Regions from separate parts of the Homo sapiens genome. Here all the other regions are linked to region 1. The links are contacts of gene promoters, found by promoter capture Hi-C in blood cells and fetal thymus (Javierre and others, 2016). All regions are on one chromosome and are shown on one strand. The core of a region is centred on a gene start or on the middle of the fragment in contact, and the rest is flanking DNA. Distances in the headings are between cores, read along the strand shown.

Region 1 (3,236 bases), core at 239-2,738:
GTCAGAGCAGTTCGAGACTCAAATCAGTTGACTTGAATGTATTTTACTTTATTTTATTTTTTTAAGAGACGGGGGTCTCCCTATGTTGCCCAGGCTGGTCTCAAGTGATCCTGAGGTCTCAGCCTCCCAAAGTGCTGGGATTACAGGCATGAGCCACCGTGCCTGGCCTGAATGTATTTTTGATTCGCTTAAAAATGTAAAAACAAGGCCGGGCGCGGTGGCTCACGCCTGTAATCCCAACACTCTGGGAGGCTGAGGCGGGAGAATCAACTGAGGTTAGGAGTTCGAGACCAGCCTGGCCAACATGGTGAAACCCCGTCTCTACTAAAAAGACAAAAAAAAGAAGCCAGGTGTGTTGGCAGATGCCTGTAATCCCAGATACTCGGGAGGCTGAGGCAGGAGAATCGCTGGAACCCGGGGGGAGGAGGTTGCAGTGAGCCGAGATCGCGCCACTGCATTCCAGCCTGGGCGACAGAGCAAGGCTCCGTCGCAACAAAAAAAAAAAAAAAAGAAGAAGAAGAAATAACTAAAACAAACCCTATTTTGTCTTGCAAACAACTAAAAATACTTACTAGTGTATCTTTTCCATTAGATGATTCTGTCTCCAAGCCACCGCTTACATCGACCAAGTTTGCCTCCCTATAAGATAATGAAAGCGCTCAAGTAAGAATTCTCAAGACAAACCTCAAAATGCCTATTCCCAAAAATGATGATCAAATTACAGCCGAACTTCATACTCCTGCAGCTTTTTCAGCTAAGCCTGATCTCAGACTGGATGCCCAAGGTACTGTCAGGATACTGAGAAGGTGGACATGTCAGACAGTCGCGGACCCACGGAGCACAGGGAAGCCTAACCGGCCTTTACAGTCAAATCTACCTGGGTTAGAGTTGGTCCTGGGAGAGGTTCAAAGAGAGGCAGCTCTCCCACCCTGTTTTCAGAGTGACCGTTACTTCTTCCAGTCTGGCACTGCAAAGTGGTTTCTTTTCTGGAATATGTGAAGGCCTCCCGTTAAAGTGTGAGCTACCAGCTTCCTGCCAGGGTGCAAGGATCAGAGATAACGACAGGAGCCTCAGCTCCCACCGCCCGTGAAAGGTGCGGAAGGGGCGTTATCCGAGATATGCTTGAGAGGGGACGGGCCAAGCGGCGCAGAGGCAGGGCGAGCCATTGGCGGCGGGGCCTGGGTTCGCAGGGGGCGGGCGGCAGGGCTCCAGGAGCCGCGGGATTCGCGAGGGGCGGGCCTCCCTCCCGCGTCTTCCTCGGGCGGCAGGACCTCTTACCCGCCTTCAGCCTCCCCGGAACTGGGCTCAACTGTCGGAGCAGCAGAGATCCCCTCTCCAGGAGGAGCGGCTGCTCCCGCTGCCACCGGCTTCATCTCCCCCTCTTCTGCCCCTGTTGCATTTGCGACCGCTCCTGGGCCAGGCCCGGCACCCGCTTCCTGGCCAGGTCCTGCTCCTGCCGCCGCCATCACGGCCACCCCTGGACTTCTCGCGAGAATACTCTCTTCTCTCGCGCGCGTTGCTGTGTGACGCTGTAGTCTTCAAACAGAAAAAGCCCGCGGTGCGTCCACCGCCTGCCTGAGGAAGCATAATTCCACGACCGCTTTAAGGCCAGGCGCGCGGGCAGAGGTGGGCCGGCCTCCCGCGCCGGCGGTGGCCGCGGGCCTGGCAGGCTGAAGGTGGAGGAAGCTAGATGGTTAGTGCGGCTCTCTGGAGGACTTCCTTTCGAGTCAGGGACTGACGCGGCGTATTTTCGTGGCTACGACTGGATATTCTGCGCAGAAGAGGGTCCTTGAGAGCGCTGGCCGTGCCGTGCCGCCAAACACTCCTCACCACCGAATGTGGGAAACGTCTTCCTTGGAGTCTAGCACTCCCTGCCCGCCCCGGATGGAATTTGGTTTTCTGCGCAGGGTCGCCCCTTGGAGCCCGTTTCCAAATGATTTTAAGAGGGAAGGGAATCTAGGGAGGCCGATTCCAGGGGCGAGGGTGGAAAACCCAGGCCGGGCAGCCGAGGAGCGGCGTGGGCACTAGAAGCGGCTCGCCGCTTCCTACTGTGAGAGGCGGAAAGCGAAGCCCCGGGGTGTGCCGGGGCACTCGGAATGTAGACAAGTTTGGTGCCCAGCGAAAGGAAGAGGTGTGGACTGAAAGTACGAACTTGGGAAGTCATCAACAGTAGCTGGTGGCTGGCATCAGTGGAGTGAGTTGAGTCTTTCAGAGCCATGGTCTCCAAACTCGAGAATGCAAACCTCTGAGAGTGTTGCGGCCAGGAACGTTTTCAGGACACCAGTGTTTATCCTATATCCTAAAATGTTGCCTAACGATAATACACTCTTCTCCCGCTTTACACAAGAACGGCGCACCCCTCGCCAATCCTCAGTCTAATCTTACTGTGATGTGTCCACCGATAGTGTAGGAATCTCTGGGCCACTGGACGCCATGGGAAATACGTAGATATTGATTTCCCAATTGGTTCTCAATTATTGGTTTTCAACAAAATTGAAGAAAGACCTAACTGAGTTGCCAGGTTACATTTTTAAAATTGATGATAAATACTTAAATCAGGGGTTGGTACTCCAAAGAGAAGCAGGATGCTTGATCTAAGTATCTCCTCCCAAATACGTAGTATTGTAGCAGTTTTAACATATGGTCGCAGAATTTTGTGTTTTCTTGTTGTTGTTTGTTTGAGACAGAGTCTCGCTCTGTCGCCCAGGCTGGAGCGCAGTGGCCCGATCACGGCTCACTGCAACCTCCACCCCAGGTTCAAGCGATTCTCCTACCTCAGCCTCCCGAGTAGCTGAGATTACAGGTATCTGTCACCACGCCCGGCTAATTTTTGTTAGTAGAGGCGGGGTTTCACCATGTTGGCCAGGCTGGTGTCGATCTCCTGACCTCAAGTGATCCACCCACCTGGGCCTCCCAAAGTGCTGGGATTACAGGTGTGAGCCACCGCGCACGGCTTTTTTTTTTTTTTTTTGAAACGGAGTCTCGGTTTGTCGCCCAGGCTGAGTGCAGTAGCGCGATCTCAGCTCACTGCAACCTCCACCTCGCGGTTTCGGGTTCAAGCGATTCTCTTGCCTCAGCCTCCCGAGTTGCTGGGATTACAGGCACGCGCCATGACGCCTGGCTAATTTTTGTATCTTTAGTAGAGACGGGGTTTCACCTGTGTGTTTTTTTTTTTTTTTTCTGAGACAGAGTCTCGCACTGTCGCTCAGGCTGGAGTGCAGCAGTGGCGGCATCAT
Region 2 (3,133 bases), core at 353-2,852, 260 kb before region 1:
TGAGTTTTTCTTAATTGTTGAGAGAATTCATGCTGGTTCAAGTTTGAACATGAAGTTAACTTTCCAGTCCAATTTTACTTCCACTGTTTTATTACAACTCATGATGGCTAAAGCTTCACTAAAGCTTGGTGTTCTGATTAAACAAACAGGTGATGTGAAATTTGGATATATAGTATGAAATTCTGAATTTTCTAACTTTTATTACTTATTTTGAAAACTACATGTTGAATACTAAAATACTACATGTTGAACCTAAAATACTAAAGCGATAAACAAAAAAAACAAAACCCAAACTGGTCTTTATAGAAAAGATAAACTTAGTAAATTATTATTTAGATATAATAAATTGCTTAGTGCCTTAAAAACTACATATCATCTTTGGCATACATTCTCTTTTGCCTTTTTTGGGGGAATGGAGGATACAAGCTAAAAGAAAGTAAATTTGAATGCTTGCAAAATTTTAAGAACCAATCTCAAACCATTTTACCATAATTTAAAAGTTTGTCCAGGAAATAGGTAAGAAAATATGTGGATGAACTTGTTAGTTTACTAGATTTCATAGTGAATGGAACAAGATGACTGATGAAAGTTGTTTGTAGTAATTTTCATTGTGAGCAACTACCCTTGCTGTAAAGGATTGGAAAATAATGTAATTTCCTTCAAGTGGTAATACCATGTCTGTTGTTGCTGGGTGTGGTCAGCAACAAAGCGAAGACAGTTGAGGTTAAACTAGATAGATAAGGGAAACAGGGTGTTTTACTAGTAAGCTTTGTATTGGTAAAAGGCAGTTCAATAGTAATGTGGTTTAGTCAGGAAAAAAATATGAACTACAAAGCCACCTAAAATGTTGTATAACTTAATGGAATCATAGTCAAGTGAAAACTGTATGATTGAATTTAGTGACAGGATTTATGGTTAAATGAAACACTTTTTTGTTGTTGTTGTTTTCTTTTTTGTATTTTGTTAACTAAGTTCTACTTCACGCAGGTTACTTCCTAATTCAGGATATTTTAATGTCTTTAATCATCATCCTTCTCTAAACATCTTTCTCTAAATTTTTAGTGGAAAATTTAAAGTGAACACATTTCAGAAAATATTTGAGGTGACAACGCTAAAGTTAAACAGATTATGGAGTAGCACAGTTATTCTTTACAGATAATTTGCTGCCTGGTGCAGTGGCTCACACCTGTAATCCCAACACTTTGGGAGGCCAAGGCGAGTGGATCACCTGAGGTCAGGAGTTCGAGACCGGCCTGACTAACATGGTGTAACCCCCTTTAGCTGGGTGTGATGGTGCATGCCTGTAATCCCAGCTACTTGGGAAGCTGAGGCAGGAGAATCACTTGAACCCTGGAGGCAGAGGTTGCAGTGAGCCGAGATTGTGCCAGGGCACTCCAACCTGGGCAACAAGAGCAAATCTCTGTCTCAAAAAAAAAAGATATTTTGCTTTATTAATAGTTTAAACTCAGAAAAGTTTAAAAAAAGTTAAGAGAAAACATACAACTTCTCTAACACACCTTGATTCCTTACTAGGATTTTGTAAAGAGAATCGTGGCCATGCTGATTTTACTCCCTAAAATCCTATCTATGTCACTAACTGTATTGGTTGTGAATTTCATATAATTGTTTGATATTACAAATAATGGTCATCTTAAATAATGTTAAGGTGATAGATGAGATTTAAAGTTAGTTTTTTATTTATTTATTTTTTTGAGACAGAGTCTCACTCTGTCACCCAGGCTGGAGTGCAGTGGCACAATCTCAGCTCACCGCAACCTCCACCTCCCGGGTTCAAGTGATTCTCCTGCCTCAGCCTCCCTAGTAGCTGGGACCACAGGCATGCACCACCACACCCAACTAATTTTTGTATTTTTGGTAGAGACAAGGTTTCACCATGTTGGCCAGGCTTGTCTTGAACTGCTGACCTCAAGTGATCTGCCTGCCTCGGCCTCCCAAAGTGCTGGGATTATAGGCATGAGCCACCACACCTGGCCAAAAGTTAGTATTTTAACCACATATATATATATATTCTTTTCAGAATGAAAACTCAAGCCCTACACTTATGTATTGATAATAGGAGGAATCACAGCTCATTTTCCCATTTTTCGTGGTCATTTTATATATGTGGATCACCTGATCCAACCTTTCTTATGATGTTAAATGAAAACCCAAAGATACTGTCTGTCCTCGGAATTTATGCAGCTAAGTTAGGGGTAGAAGCAGAACTAAAATTCAAGTCTTATGACTCTAAGACCAATGTTAGAGTACATCCTTCTACTCTGTGGACATTTTGCTTGTCCCTAGGTATATGAGTTTGTCTTACTCTGGCATAGAGATCTATTTGCTGAACTTCCTCTTATGTGACTTCTTTCTAGCATCACAGTAATATTAACAGATTTCTTTAAAAATTTATAATTCTTATTTAATATAAGCTTTTAAAGGATGTTTTTGTTAAGGTAAAATTTGAAAAATAATGTAGATCAGCACTGTCTAATAGAATTTTCTATGATGACAGAAATATTCTGTATCTGCACTGACCAATATGGTAACCTTAGCCACATGTTGATGTTGAATGCTTGAAATATGGCCATTGTAACTGAGGAACTAAATTTTTAATGTAATTTAATTTTAACTTGTTTAAATTTAAATAGCTACGTGTGGTTAGCCCAGAATTAGCTATTCTTAGTGAAGGGAAAGAATTAAGTAGATATAGGCTGGGCACGTTGGCTCACACCTGTAATCCCAGCACTTTGGGAGGCCGAGGTGGGCAGATCATGAGGTCAAGAGATCAAGACCATCCTGGCCAACATGGTGAAACCCCGTCTCTACTAAAAATTCAAAAATTAGCCAGGTGTGGTGGCGGGCGCCTGTAGTCCCAGCTACTCACGAGGCTGAGGCAGAGAATTGCTTGAACCCAGGAGGCAAAGGTTGCAGTGAGCTGAGATCATACCATTGCACTCCAGCCTGGCGACGACAGAGACTCTATCTCAAAAAAAAAAAAAAAAGAATTAAGTAGATGTGAACATAATTGTACATTCTTTGCCTTGTGATTACTATATTTGTGTGTTTTTGTGGGCTAGATGTTTAAAATCTCATTTTTCCAGTGTGTTTGCTACGTTAGATGGTAAATAAA
Region 3 (3,294 bases), core at 795-3,294, 310 kb before region 1:
TGAAATACAGAGAGGTGGAGATGGGGTGCCTCTCAAGGTTTGAACTTCACCAGCCCCAACTTATGCCACTCTCTGTTTCCCCCGAAAGACTGGTCTTAGGCAAACCCCTGGGAGAGGGCTGCTTTGGGCAGGTGGTGTTGGCAGAGGCTATCGGGCTGGACAAGGACAAACCCAACCGTGTGACCAAAGTGGCTGTGAAGATGTTGAAGTGTAAGTGATGCTTCTGTCCTTGCAAAGAAAATCTTGTCCCATTCCAAGCAAACAGCAGGCCTCGGGCCCAGCAGAACAGCTTCTCTGGTGCCTTTGCTGCCCACACCTGCTCCGCTGCCTGCTTGGGGTTACCTGGGAGTGGAGGGGGTGTTCTGCACCTTGAGATTGTTCTATGACGTCACTCTGTTCCTTGGCGTCAACCTGGGCTGTGGTCAGGTGTTTATCCTGGATCCATCGCTTGCAGGCTTTCCTCACCACATCCCTGCCCACTCACTACCACCTATTGCAACAACGGCTCCCATGAGAGGGAAGAGAAAACAAGTTTGGATGAAGTGGGGAGGAGAGAATCAAGTCCCAGGGAAAAGCAGCCCCTCGACACATACCCCACTCCCTTAGCCTTTATCCTGCCCTCCTCCCTTCCCAAGTAAATGAGTCTCAACGTGTTCTTTAAAGCGGACGCAACAGAGAAAGACTTGTCAGACCTGATCTCAGAAATGGAGATGATGAAGATGATCGGGAAGCATAAGAATATCATCAACCTGCTGGGGGCCTGCACGCAGGATGGTGGGTGCCGGCCAGACTGGCTTTCCCTGCCCAGCGGGGAGAAGATCTGAGCTGGGGTATCAGTCCCAAGGCCTCTCTCAGCCACAGCTAGGGAAGGGGGTTAAGAGAGGCTGCTTTGGCAGAGGTTTAAAATGTGTTATCTCGGGATCTGGGCTCCGCTCATTGGTGTTCATTCAGGAATACAGATACCTAGATTCACACACGTGGTGTGTTAACAGAGGCAGCTGAGTAATTATGGTCTAAGAGCGCTCAGGCTGGGTGCAGTGGCTCATGCCTGTAATCCCAGCAATTTGGGAGGCCGAGGCAGGAAGATCACTTGAGATCAGGAGTTCGAGACCAGTCTGGTCAAAATGGTGAAACCCCATCTCTACTAAAAAATACAAAAGTTAGCCAGGCATGGTCACGCATGCCTATAATCCCAGCTACTCAGGAGGCTGACGCATAAGACTTGCTTGAACCCGGGAGGTGGAGGTTGCAGTGAGCCAAGATCACGCCATTGTACTCCAGCTTGGGAGATACTCCCGCTGTCTCAAAAATAAAATAAATAAATAGGCCAGGCACAGTGGCTCACGCCTGTAATCCCAGCACCTTGGGAGGGTGAGGCGGGTGGATCACTTGAGGTCAGGAGTTGGAGACCAGCCTGGCCAACAGGTGAAACCCCATCTCTACTAAAAATACAAAAAGTAGCCGGGCGTGGTGGCGCATGCCTGTAATTCCAGCTACTCGGGAGGCTGTGGCAGGAGAATCGTTTGAACACGGGAGGCGGAGGTTGCGGTTAGCCGAGATCGCGCCATTGCACTCCAGCTTGGGCAACGAGCAAAACTCCATCTCAAAAAAAAAAAAAAAAAAAAAAAAAATTAGCCAGGCATTGTTCATGCCTGTAATCCCAGCTGCTTGGGAGGCTGAGGCAGGAGAATCACTTGAATCCAGAAGGCAGAGGTTGCAGTGAGCCGAAATTGCGCCACTGCACTCCAGCCTGGGCAACAGAGTGAGACTCCATCTCAAAATAAACAGACAAACTGGGGCTCTTACCCCAATGTTGCTCGGGAATTTTCTGGACTATGCTGGGAGTAATTATTTCTCTGATTTTTTTTGGGTAGTAGAATGGATTTCCCAGGTCCCCTAAGAGGAGGCAGGAGATGGGAGGTTGGCCGGGGTGTGCTGCTGGGGGTGGGGTTTCTTTGAGGTGAAGCCAAACCTGCTCACCTGCTGCTGGCCCCATGGCCTCTTCTCCTGTGCCTGCAGGTCCCTTGTATGTCATCGTGGAGTATGCCTCCAAGGGCAACCTGCGGGAGTACCTGCAGGCCCGGAGGCCCCCAGGGCTGGAATACTGCTACAACCCCAGCCACAACCCAGAGGAGCAGCTCTCCTCCAAGGACCTGGTGTCCTGCGCCTACCAGGTGGCCCGAGGCATGGAGTATCTGGCCTCCAAGAAGGTGTGGAACCTGAAGGCTCCCCTGGGTAATGCCAGGGTGGGAACAGAGCCCCCCTAGTCTTCCAGCCTGTGACTTATCATCTTGTGGTGGCGTTGTGGATGCACTGAGCACTGGCCCTGTGTGCCCTGTGTGTTGTCTTAGGCTCTCTGGGAACTGCAGAGTCAGGAGCACCAGTGTAGCCAGGTGGCCTTGGGGTCAGACTGATGCAGGGTCCGATCTGTGCACTGCCACTTTCTGCGTAGCCTCAGGCAGCTACTTAGCATCTTAAAATTCTTCAAATACAAAATAATAATAATATCAGCTGGGTGCAGTGGCCAAGGCGGGAGGATTGCTTGAGCTCAGGAGTGTGAGACCAGGTTGGGCAATATATTGAAACCCCGTCTTTAAAAAAAAAAAAAAAATTAAAAAATTAGCTGGGTGTGGTAGTGCGTGCCGATAGTCCCAGCTACTCGGGAGGCTGAGGTGGGAGGCTAGCTTGAGCCCAAGAGTTTGAGGCTGCACTGAGCCATGATCACACCACTGCACCCCAGCCGGGGCGACAGAGCAAGGCCCTGTCTCAAAAGAAAATAAAGTATAACAATACCTGTTGTAGAATTGTTATGAAGATAAAATGAAACTGTCTGTGAGTGTTGAGTGCAGTGTTTGGTGTGTAAGGGCTGGCCTGGTTTGAGCCCAGCCCCATGTGGACTTGCTGTGCTGGGAGGCAGGACCTAGGAGCATGCATCGCTGCAGACGCAGCAGAGGCATAAGGGGCCAGTCTTTGGGGAAGGAAGGGAGGAGCGCTTGCTGTGATGAGAAGCCTGGAGCTGGCAGAGAATGTTAGAAGAGGGAAAGCAAAGGTTCGGGGGGCAGAGCAGTGTGGCAGAAGTTCTATGAGACAAGTCGGCTAGTTGCATGGGTGGCGGCCGCCCAGAGCCTTCCAGCTCCCTCACCTCCCCGCCTCCCGCTCTCCCTTCCTCCTTCCTCAGTGCATACACCGAGACCTGGCAGCCAGGAATGTCCTGGTGACAGAGGACAATGTGATGAAGATAGCAGACTTTGGCCTCGCACGGGACATTCACCACATCGACTACTATAAAAAGAC
Region 4 (3,145 bases), core at 255-2,754, 360 kb after region 1:
TTCTTAAAAGCACAGTGAATCCAAAACAGATAAAAGACTACAAACCCTATAAAATGAATTTAGATTCATTTTCTACTGCAGAAACATTAAAAGTAATTTGGATGATTTCCTAAATCTTAAATGGTGCAAAAGGCGGTTTGCTTAATTATGATTGCTGGCGATGTGGATGAGTCCTCCTGTCTGCTATGAAAAATGTTCTTGCTCAGGGTCCCTTTTATGAAGATTCCTGGGAAAAATCATTTTCCAGTCCTAGTGTCAAGAACAGTTATACTATTGGTTAAAAATTCATTTACTTTTGGCATTGGCTATTAGAGAATTTCTGGCAGTGAGTTTAAACAGAATACTTGACTGCAAACAAGTTATAACAGTTACCCAACTGTGTCCTTCCTTTGCTGCTAAGTCAGGTTGCCTTTACTTTGAAAAAGGTAAAAAGGACAAAACATATCTACTTAGGCACGTGGAATCTTTTTGTTTAAAGTGTTTTTCTATTCGTTGCTACAGGTACAGAGTAAAAAAATAATAATCACAAAGGTTCTGAGAACTGGAAGGAGCTATGGTTCTCATCTCACTTCTAGAATTAACTATGAATCATGTCTTTTTCATCACCCATTCCTGGGGGCCCTCCATTCAGTGTTGCATGGTGAGAAGAATGCTGAAGAGCCAGGAGAGGAAGGCTCCTGTTTCAGCCCCACTACTAATTGGCATCTGGCTCTGTGACTTTCTTGCTTTGGGTCACAGTACCCTCAGCTTAAAATGAGGATGCTGGTCTGGACAATCTCTAAGGTTCTTCTAGAATGGACCTTGTCTTCATTATAGAATGATAGTTTAGGAACAGTGGGAACACATTTCCACTCCAGCCTCTGATTGAGGCCAGAAGTGAATACTCTACTCCACTATGGTCCCTGTGCCCAAAGCTCCAGCCCTCTAAGGATCTTGTTGCATAGCTATCAGCATTCTCCATGAACTCCTTTGTGACCAGCTCCTGAGCACAAGATTCTTTAACATTTCCTGTCCATAAGTGACCATCACACCCTGCAGGCAGCCAGGCTTTAGGCAGTGGAGAGACGCGGGGTTCCAGGAACCCTGCTTAAGCACGGCATGCTCAGGAGAGACTTTCTTACCAAACAGCTCAATGTAGACCTCTTGAAGCGTGTGCACACTGCAGAACTGGTTCAGTTCGTGGTGGATCTTGTTGAAGATGAGGGCCTTGTCATAGTCAGCAGTATAGTTCTTCACTATATCATACACTGAGAGGGAAGGAGAGGGCTTGGCATAAGAAAAGGCAAGACTCAAAATGCCCTCAGACACGGCAGCTCTCCTTTTCCAAGGTGCTACAACAGACACGGGAGTGGCATGCTGGGGAAAGTGAGCTGGTGGTGGGAATAAACTGTTAAGACGTACCTGCGTTCGGGACCAGGAAGTTCACCACTTCAATTCTGTCAAAGTAGATCATCACACCACCACTATTGGAGGGAGAATGGACAAGAAGTCACTGGGAAGCCTTAGAATATGGTGCAGTCCCCCAGGGTGATGGCGTAAGATGTGGGGCTTGGCAGAAAAGGAGTAGAAGAGTTCACGGGAAGTTGGAAGGCAGCTTGGATCTCCAAGTGGGAGGTTCTGCAGGGCTCATGGCAACAACATACTCTCCTGAGAAATCACACTGCCTAGGAACATCTCTACAAAGACATGAATGAGACTTTTGGGGACCAGTACGAAAGAGTAACTCATATCTTTGGAATCAGCAATGCCTTTTGATTAATCAGTTGCACGGAAAAGACTAAGGAGGGTCAAGGTGAAGTTTTCAGAACTTAGAAGGTTACTGTGGAATGTTATGATCAATGTTTCTTAAACTGTCTTCACTATTACTTTGGTGTCACACTCCCTTTGCCCTCAAATATTTATTATAAAAAGATTTCAAACATAGAGAAGCCGAAAGAGTAGTATAACTAACATCCATATCCAGATACCTGAATTCAACACTGATAACATTTTACCTTATTTATTGACCTTTTTTTTTTCTGAACATTTCAAAGTAAGCTGCAGTTAGGATACTTTACTCCTTTACTTTGGTGAGCACTGTCTTAAGAATAATCATTCTCCTACACACTCATGGTATCATTCCCAAGCCTAAGAAAATTAGCAATAATTCTGTAATATCACCTAATACCCAGTCCTTATTCAGATTTCCCCAACAGTTTGTGTTATGGACTGACCTGTGTATGCCTCGCCCCCAGATTCATATGTTGAAGCCCTAACCCCCAATGTGACTGTATTTGGAGATTAGACCTTTAAGAAGGTAATTAAGGTTAAACAGGTCATAAGGGTGGGCTGTAATCCAAAAGGTCTGGTATCCACCAAAGACCTTTTTCTCTCTTCTTGCACATACAGAGGAAAGGCCTTGTGAGGATGTGACAAAAAGGTGGTCACCTGCAAGCCAGAAAGAGAGGTCTCACCAAAACTACCCCTGCTGTTACCCGGATCTTGGACTTTGGGCCTTCAGAATGGTGAGAAAATATCTATTATTTTAGTCCCTTGGTGTGTAGTCCTCTGTCATGGCAGCCTGAGTGGACTCATATAGTTTCTGTCGTATCTGTTATAGCTGTTAATTTTGAACCAGGTTCTAATCAATGCTCACCCTTGCTTCTGTTTATGTTTCTTGTAAGTCTCTGTCCAATCCAGCATCCCTCTAAATACAACCACTTTGTGAAGAGATCAGGCCTGCGATCTTGTGGGATGTTCCAATTCCGGATTTGTCAGAGTGTTTCTTTGTGGTATTCTTTGTCACTCTATCCCAGTTTAAACTGTCTTTGCTTTCCAGTGGGACCGCTGTAGCAGTGTTCTCTTCGGATCTCTTTGCCCTGAAGGTCTCCCCTACCTTTATGACATTCTCTTTAGTTATGCAAGTTATCTTCTTGTATCAGGTCATTTATCTGCTAAAAACCTTTGTGCATCCTCACTTCTTTTTTTGTTTTTAACGTTAAAATTTTATTTTATTTTCCATTGTTTAAATTCAGAGGTACATGTGCAGGATGTGCAGGTTTGTTACATAGGTAAACGTGTGCCATGGTGGTTTGCTGCTCAGATCATCCCATCACCCAAGTATTAAGCTCAGCATCTATTAGCTATTCTTCCTGATGCTCTCCCT
Region 5 (3,045 bases), core at 546-3,045, 330 kb after region 1:
CAGTCTGGATTCTTTTGTCCTTAGTCATGAGGCTGATGTAATAGCATTCAACTAATTTCATGGTAAAGACAGTCACAGTTCCCAGAGAAATCCTTTCCCCTTGCACCACTGGTGACATTCCACTCCTACTGCAGCCCTTCAGGAATTGGTAAGCGAGTACTTCCTCCTTCAAAGCTTTGGTGGGATGCACACGACCACTTCTTTTCTGAAGGATGAAGATGTCCTGGATTTTAAGAATGTCCTGTCTGACCTCATTCCTGTGTGTCTAGCCTTGGGGAACAGAATTCACTGCTGGTCCAGCTTCAGGGGGAAGGCACAGGGTTGCACACTCTGGGCCCTGCAGCCTGTGAGATTAGCTTGAATCATGAGGAATGAGCTTGGGAGGGAGATGGGATGACGAGAGGGGAGGCCAATCCCACTCATGGCTGGGTTTAATGCTCTCCTTCCTTCTCACCCCCACTGCCTGTGGTTTCAAAGTTTGTTCTGCATTAAGATGCGTCAATTCTCAGCTGTTCCACTGGAATAGAAACACACACACTTATTTTATGGTAATAAGGCTCGTTTAAATGAAAGCTGCACATCTAAGAATATGCCACTTATCAATTATTAAAGGTAGAGATAGAAGATACCAGTGTGGAGTAGTGACCATGTTCTGGGCCAGAAAGTCAAGTCCTGAGTTTATTTCTCGTCCTGCCACAACTCACTCTGACCTCAGACAAGGAGAACACGGAACCTTCTCTGGGCCCCAGTGCCCCGTCCACAAAGGGACATTGCCTATCAGCCTACACAAGTCTACCAGCTGTTGTGATGGTGAAATGAGAGAATATAGAGAATAGTGCTGCATATGCCATCAATGTTAAACAAAAGGTGGGGGGTACCATTTGAGTATTAAGAGGTTGCTTTAAGAACTGTGATAGAATCTGTGAGGAGCTCCCCAAGAGATCAAAGTCTTGATGGACTATTGGGAGGTTTTGTGGCGTCTCAAGCCTTCTGAGGCTGGCTTCAGGGCAGACAAGGGCCCAGCGCCTTCAGAGACTGTGAGGCTGCACAGGTGGGCCCAATCCAGGAGAGCAAGCCGTCCAAACTCCAGGAACTGGCTTTCATGAAAATCTGGAAGAAACCCAACCTGCCACCCATCATGCGTAACGAAAGACAAACTCACAACCTGGCTCAATTTTCTCTCTGCAAAATATCCCATCCTGCTGGGGACACCCTAGACACACTTTGGTGTCCTTCCCTTATCTAGATCTGATTGAGCCTTCCCTGGCTTTCCTCCTTATTCGCTGTTTTTGTTTTGTTTTGAGATGGGGTCTCACCTTGTCACCCAAGCTGCAGTGCAGTGGTGCGATCTCAGCTCACCGTGACTTCTTCCTCCCAGGCTCAAGCGATCCTCCCACCTCAGCCTCTGGAGTAGCTGGGTCCACAGGCATGTGCCACCATGCCCAGCTAATTTTTGGGCGGGGTATTTTTGGTACAGACAAGATTTCACCGTGTTGCCCAGGCTAGCTGGTATCGAACCCCTGAGGCTCTGCAAGTCACACTATCACTTGAGAGCGTCATGTCCTCTCTGGCCTCCACCAGACTGAGTAACCAGGAGTCCCTCATAAGGTAAACTACTGACAGTGGAGAGCCAGTGCTTGTCCCTCAGGTTAGCCAATGTCGCCATCTAGAGGCAATTCAAAAGTCTCTTGCAGTGAGGGGTAACTATTTTTGTAATTCTTGAAATGTCCTTTTTCTTGCCCTTAGAAGTTCAGAATCCCTCTCACCCATGGTGTAGCTTTGGCTGCGTCTGTGACCCCAGGGAAGCCCTCCTCCAAAGCCAGGCTGGCACAATGCCAAGGCACCAGCATAGCTGCTTCCCGTCGGTTCCAATGCCCCCACCTGTTATATTCAGTCACTACACCAGATCATAAAAAATAAATCTTTTAATTGCTTTGTAATTGGCACAGATGGTGTAATTCAAACTCACATTTTTATTTAATAGACTCTGAAATATCACACTGTAGCTCTCACTGAAATAATACAGGAATCATAATGTTTAAGTTTACAAAAGTACATTTGGCAGCATCATGATGTTTTGAAAGTTACCTGTAAAATCAAAGACTGGGGCTTCAAAAAATAAGAGAAAAAGCCATCTGGAAAATAAAAAACAAGCCATACTGAAGCCATTTGTCATGACTATTAGAGAATGGTGTTTTTGGGTTTTTTGAGGATCTTGCTACTTTATTAATGATCCAGAAGAGTTGCACAATTCTGGCTTGTAAATACAGTGGGGAAGCTGTAACTATGCCTGGAAAGTGCTCCTCAGGACAAGGAATGTCAAAGCCAGGCTTTGTTGAAACCATGTGCCTGAAAAGGCTTTGAAGGAATCTTTCGTTTCTTAGGAGTAATGAGATTCACTGGGTTTTGATTTAAAAAATCACCCTAAAGAGGATTATAGTGGAGGAGATAATCATTAAATTCTCATCACTGTAGGTCCCAGAGGAAAAACGCAAAGTCCTGTCTCTTCAGGATGATGTCAGAAAGGCCCAAGTCCTCCTTATGTTATCCTTTAATTTCAGGGATAAAACAGAGTGGCAGTGACACAAGCTCTCACTACCAAATTAATTTTTTTTTTAAGAGACAGGCTGTCTCTAAAAAAGTTGGGGGGTATTATCTGCATATTAAAAGGTTGCTTTAAGAAATGTGACAGCATCTATGAAGAACTTCCCAAGAGATCAAAGCCTTCATGGACTATTGGGATTTTTTTTTTTTTTTTAAGGCAGGAGTACAGTGGTGCAATCATAGCTCACTGCAGCCTCAAACTCCTGGGCTCAAGTGATTCTTCCATTCTTCCACCTCAGCCACCATGCCCAGTTAATTTTTAAATTTTTTTGTAGAGACGGGGGGTGGGGCTCCTGCTGTTGCTGAGGCTGGTCTTGAACTCCTAGGCTCAGGTGATCCTTCCGCCTCTGTCTCCCAAATTGCTGGGATTACAGGCATGAGTCACCATGCCTGGCCAGCAACAATTTGTGTTTTGAGAATTAACCTGAGCCATTTCCTGAA
Region 6 (3,055 bases), core at 21-2,520, 340 kb after region 1:
TGGCGTGATTCAAACGTATCGTGATTTTTGTCATCTTTCAGACCACTGCTGTCCAAGAGAAATATAACGCCATCCAACTGTGTAATTTGGAAGTTTCTCATAGGCACATAAGCTTAAAAATTTTAATGATATACTTTATTTAATCCAATATATCCAAAGTAAGATTTCAACATGCAATCAATAGAAAAACTAAATGCGATATTTTAATTCTTTTGAAAATCGTATGTGTTTCTGAAACCCGGTGTAGTGTTGACTTGCATATGTCTCAATTCGGGCCATCCCTATTTCGAGAGGTTAGCGGCCACCTGCGGCCAGTGCTGTCTCATCAGGGGACACAGGCAGCATGATTATTACTATTATTATTATTGAGACAGTCTCGCTCTGTCACCCAGGCTGGAGTGCGGTGGCCCGATCTGGGCTCACTGCAACCTCCACCTCCCGGGTTCAAGCGATTCTCCTGCCTCAGCCTCCCCAGTAGCTGGGACTACAGGTGCGAGCCACCGCGCCCAGCCCACAGGCAGCTTTAGATGGTCTAGCAGGAGCTCAGCACATTCAGTTAGATTCTTTTTTTGAGATGGGGTCTCGCTATGTTGCCCAGATTATCTGGGACTCGTGGGCCCAAGCAATCCTCCCACCTCCGCCTCACAGAATAGCTGGGACTACAAACGGGCACCACAACGCCCTGAGTTTGATTCTTGAGTCCCCTTCTGTGGGCAATATGGTTATAAACTTGATGAGGAGCCAGGCCATACAAATAATAATACAGAATGCTACATAGTCAGGTGGTGAAATAGTAGGTGCTACGGGCAAGGAGAAGGAGATCAATTTTGTTAAGGAAAGCACTCTTGGCTGCAATTTCTGTTGAAAGTTTCTCAAACATTAATTCAACTTAATGAAGTGGGATGCTATTATATTAGAGAAATGGCTAATGTTTGTTCTTCAGGTGGTCTTGTCTTGAGGTGATGGGGTTTATTAGAGCTTTCCGGAAAGAAGGGGCAATATTCTTACTCTCTCCTCTCACAGTTTTTCCCCAGACTCCCAGGAACAGAGATGGAATTTCACATCTTCTGCTCTGGGAAAGTCACATTAGGCAGAACCTCAGATCCTTAAAATAAGGGACTTCTTTTTGGGAAGTCTCTGGTCATTTACCCTGGTACACATTAACTGGGTTATCTGCAAACTAGGACTGCCAACATTAGGAGTAATTGTGTTCAGATAAAATGTCTCTAGACTTGATACATCTGTACTCCAACCAAAATGATAAAAAAATTTAAAATGACCAGAATGGCCCTTTGTGGTGTGAGCATAATAGATGCTTGCTGTAGAGACACAGGTGGGAAGGAGCGAGCCAGCAGTGAGTGATGGGGAGGACAGAGGGGATCATGGTGATGGGATGTGTAGAGGAAGGATTGGGTGAGATGAAACACTTCAAATAATGTGCTATTTGGAAAACATTTTAAAACCATAAATACCTCACAGATCTAGGGAATGTATAATCCAGGTGTTACGTCACTATGACAACAAGTAGTTGTAGCTTCATTTACTAGATTGGGCCTCTATTCTTTTTTGTGTTTTTTGAGACGAAGTCTTGCTCTGTCACTCAAGCTGGAGTGCAGTGACGCGATCTCGGCTCACTGCAACCTCTGCCTCCTGGGTGCAAGTGATTCTCCTGCCTGAGCCTCCCGAGTAGCTGGGACTACAGGCGTGCATCACCACGCCCGCCTAATTTTTGTATTTTTAGTACAGATGGGGTTTCACTATGTTAGCCAGGTTGGTCTCGAACTCCTGACCTTGTGATCCACCCGCCTCGGCCTCCCAAAGTGCTGGGATTACAGTCGTGGGCCACCGTGCCCAGCCAGGGACCTCTATTCTTTGAACTACAAGGCAAGGTCATCCTCCCACCCCCTTATCCATTCAGTGAACATTTACTGAGGCGTTACTCTGTAAAGAACCCTGAGAGAGACCAGGCTGAGTAAGACAGGCTTTACTGCCGATTTACTTCCAATATGCTCGCTTTTCATCTCTGACATTCTGTGGTCTTATGAAAATGGAAATGGAGACAAAAAGATCATGGTGCCCCCAGTCCCATGGTCATTTCACATTCCAATTTCTTCTTAGTTGTACTTTTGAATTAATTTTATTTCACTTTGTCCCTTTTTTTCCTTATTTGCTTTTTTAATTTCTTCTCTTCCTCTTCCTGGGACATCAACCATCCAATTTAACCTTTCATCCTCCCCTACTACCTAATCCTTGAAAAATACAAGTCCAAAATCATTTCATCACCAGTAATTGTCTTTAAATTGCTCCAATAATTTGCAAGGACCAAGGGGAAAAGAGAAAGATTAAAAAGCCAAATGCCCAGAGAAACAGATTTTATAAATAATCTAAAATCTAGTATACTTATTCACCATCAATGCCATCAAGCTTTTAAAACACCCTCATAGTCTGGAATAAATCCAAATTATGAGAAAAACATATATGGATTTAAAAATTGTTTCCTTCTGAGCCTACTGTGAGTCTTTTAGGGGGATAAAAAAGTAAAAAGTAAAATAGAAAATTACTGTTGCCTGGTTACTTAGCTCTAAAGAGAAACGGAGAAATAATGCCCATGTCCCATCCCAGTTTAAATGAATTCAGGTAGAGTAGCCCATGACAGCAAGCCCTTGGCACACATGCCATCACATCTGGCCTTTGAAATGTCTATAGAGATAGTAGAACCCTAGACCTAGGGAAGACTTAGGGAGGTTTCATACAGAAAGAATGACATTTAAACCATCCCAAACAGCACAGAGTCTTCACAATTTCTGAAGACCATCAGAGAAGAATATTTATTTTCTATTTGCAAGTAACTACTCCTCCCCATTTGAAAATTTAGCAAGCCTGATCTTAAGTAAATTCTTTACAAATCCTCCTTTATTCAAGTGAATTTCCTCTTTTTAGCTACCAGTATGTAACTTTTATAATCGTGAAGTCATTAAATGTCCCTTCTGCCTTTTCTGGCATCAACCTATGAGCTTTATTTCTTAATTACTTTTTTTTTCTTTTTGGTTTTAAC

The links. Contacts are between HindIII fragments. The CHiCAGO score rates a contact against its expected background, and 5 or more counts as called.
Region 2: a fragment that was not itself captured here is called in contact with the fragment with the promoter of ASH2L in region 1 in 1 of 17 cell types (erythroblasts); the score reaches 5.2 in erythroblasts.
Region 3: a contact is called between a fragment that was not itself captured here and the fragment with the promoter of ASH2L in region 1, in 1 of 17 cell types (naive CD8 T cells). The highest score is 7.7, in naive CD8 T cells.
Region 4: a fragment that was not itself captured here is called in contact with the fragment with the promoter of ASH2L in region 1 in 1 of 17 cell types (neutrophils); the score reaches 6.7 in neutrophils.
Region 5: a contact is called between a fragment that was not itself captured here and the fragment with the promoter of ASH2L in region 1, in 3 of 17 cell types (neutrophils, erythroblasts and fetal thymus). The highest score is 8.1, in neutrophils.
Region 6: a contact is called between a fragment that was not itself captured here and the fragment with the promoter of ASH2L in region 1, in 3 of 17 cell types (neutrophils, total CD8 T cells and naive CD4 T cells). The highest score is 8.6, in neutrophils.

The regions. Positions count from the first base shown.
Region 1 is chr8:38,103,781-38,107,016 of GRCh38, reverse strand. It overlaps ASH2L (ASH2 like, histone lysine methyltransferase complex subunit), which reads right to left and starts at 1,488. Exons shown (of 16, transcript NM_004674.5): 1 at 1,279-1,488; 2 at 573-639. The coding sequence starts at 1,466. RefSeq lists silencers at 1,101-1,300, 1,631-1,720 and an enhancer at 1,391-1,520. The HindIII fragment of the contact is 22,171 bases long and covers 1-3,236 here.
Region 2 is chr8:38,366,291-38,369,423 of GRCh38, reverse strand. All of the region lies in intron 1 of NSD3 (nuclear receptor binding SET domain protein 3), which reads left to right. Among named protein-coding and RNA genes, the nearest start is that of NSD3, 14 kb to the left of the region's middle. The HindIII fragment of the contact is 1,665 bases long and covers 770-2,434 here.
Region 3 is chr8:38,414,786-38,418,079 of GRCh38, reverse strand. FGFR1 (fibroblast growth factor receptor 1) reads left to right here. Exons shown (of 18, transcript NM_023110.3): 11 at 89-210; 12 at 664-774; 13 at 2,020-2,210; 14 at 3,179-3,294. Among named protein-coding and RNA genes, the nearest start is that of LETM2, 30 kb to the right of the region's middle. RefSeq lists enhancers at 826-1,491, 1,932-2,702. The HindIII fragment of the contact is 8,773 bases long and covers 1-3,294 here.
Region 4 is chr8:37,742,673-37,745,817 of GRCh38, reverse strand. ERLIN2 (ER lipid raft associated 2) reads right to left here. Exons shown (of 12, transcript NM_007175.8): 5 at 1,402-1,463; 6 at 1,122-1,247. Among named protein-coding and RNA genes, the nearest start is that of ERLIN2, 7.6 kb to the right of the region's middle. The HindIII fragment of the contact is 4,955 bases long and covers 1-3,145 here.
Region 5 is chr8:37,778,631-37,781,675 of GRCh38, reverse strand. It overlaps PLPBP (pyridoxal phosphate binding protein), which reads right to left. Exons shown (of 8, transcript NM_007198.4): 8 at 1,908-3,045. Among named protein-coding and RNA genes, the nearest start is that of ADGRA2, 17 kb to the left of the region's middle. RefSeq lists enhancers at 1-746, 687-1,187. The HindIII fragment of the contact is 3,237 bases long and covers 177-3,045 here.
Region 6 is chr8:37,759,087-37,762,141 of GRCh38, reverse strand. It overlaps LOC124901934 (a long non-coding RNA gene), which reads left to right. Exons shown (of 2, transcript XR_007060889.1): 2 at 1-3,055. Among named protein-coding and RNA genes, the nearest start is that of PLPBP, 2.0 kb to the left of the region's middle. The HindIII fragment of the contact is 2,312 bases long and covers 115-2,426 here.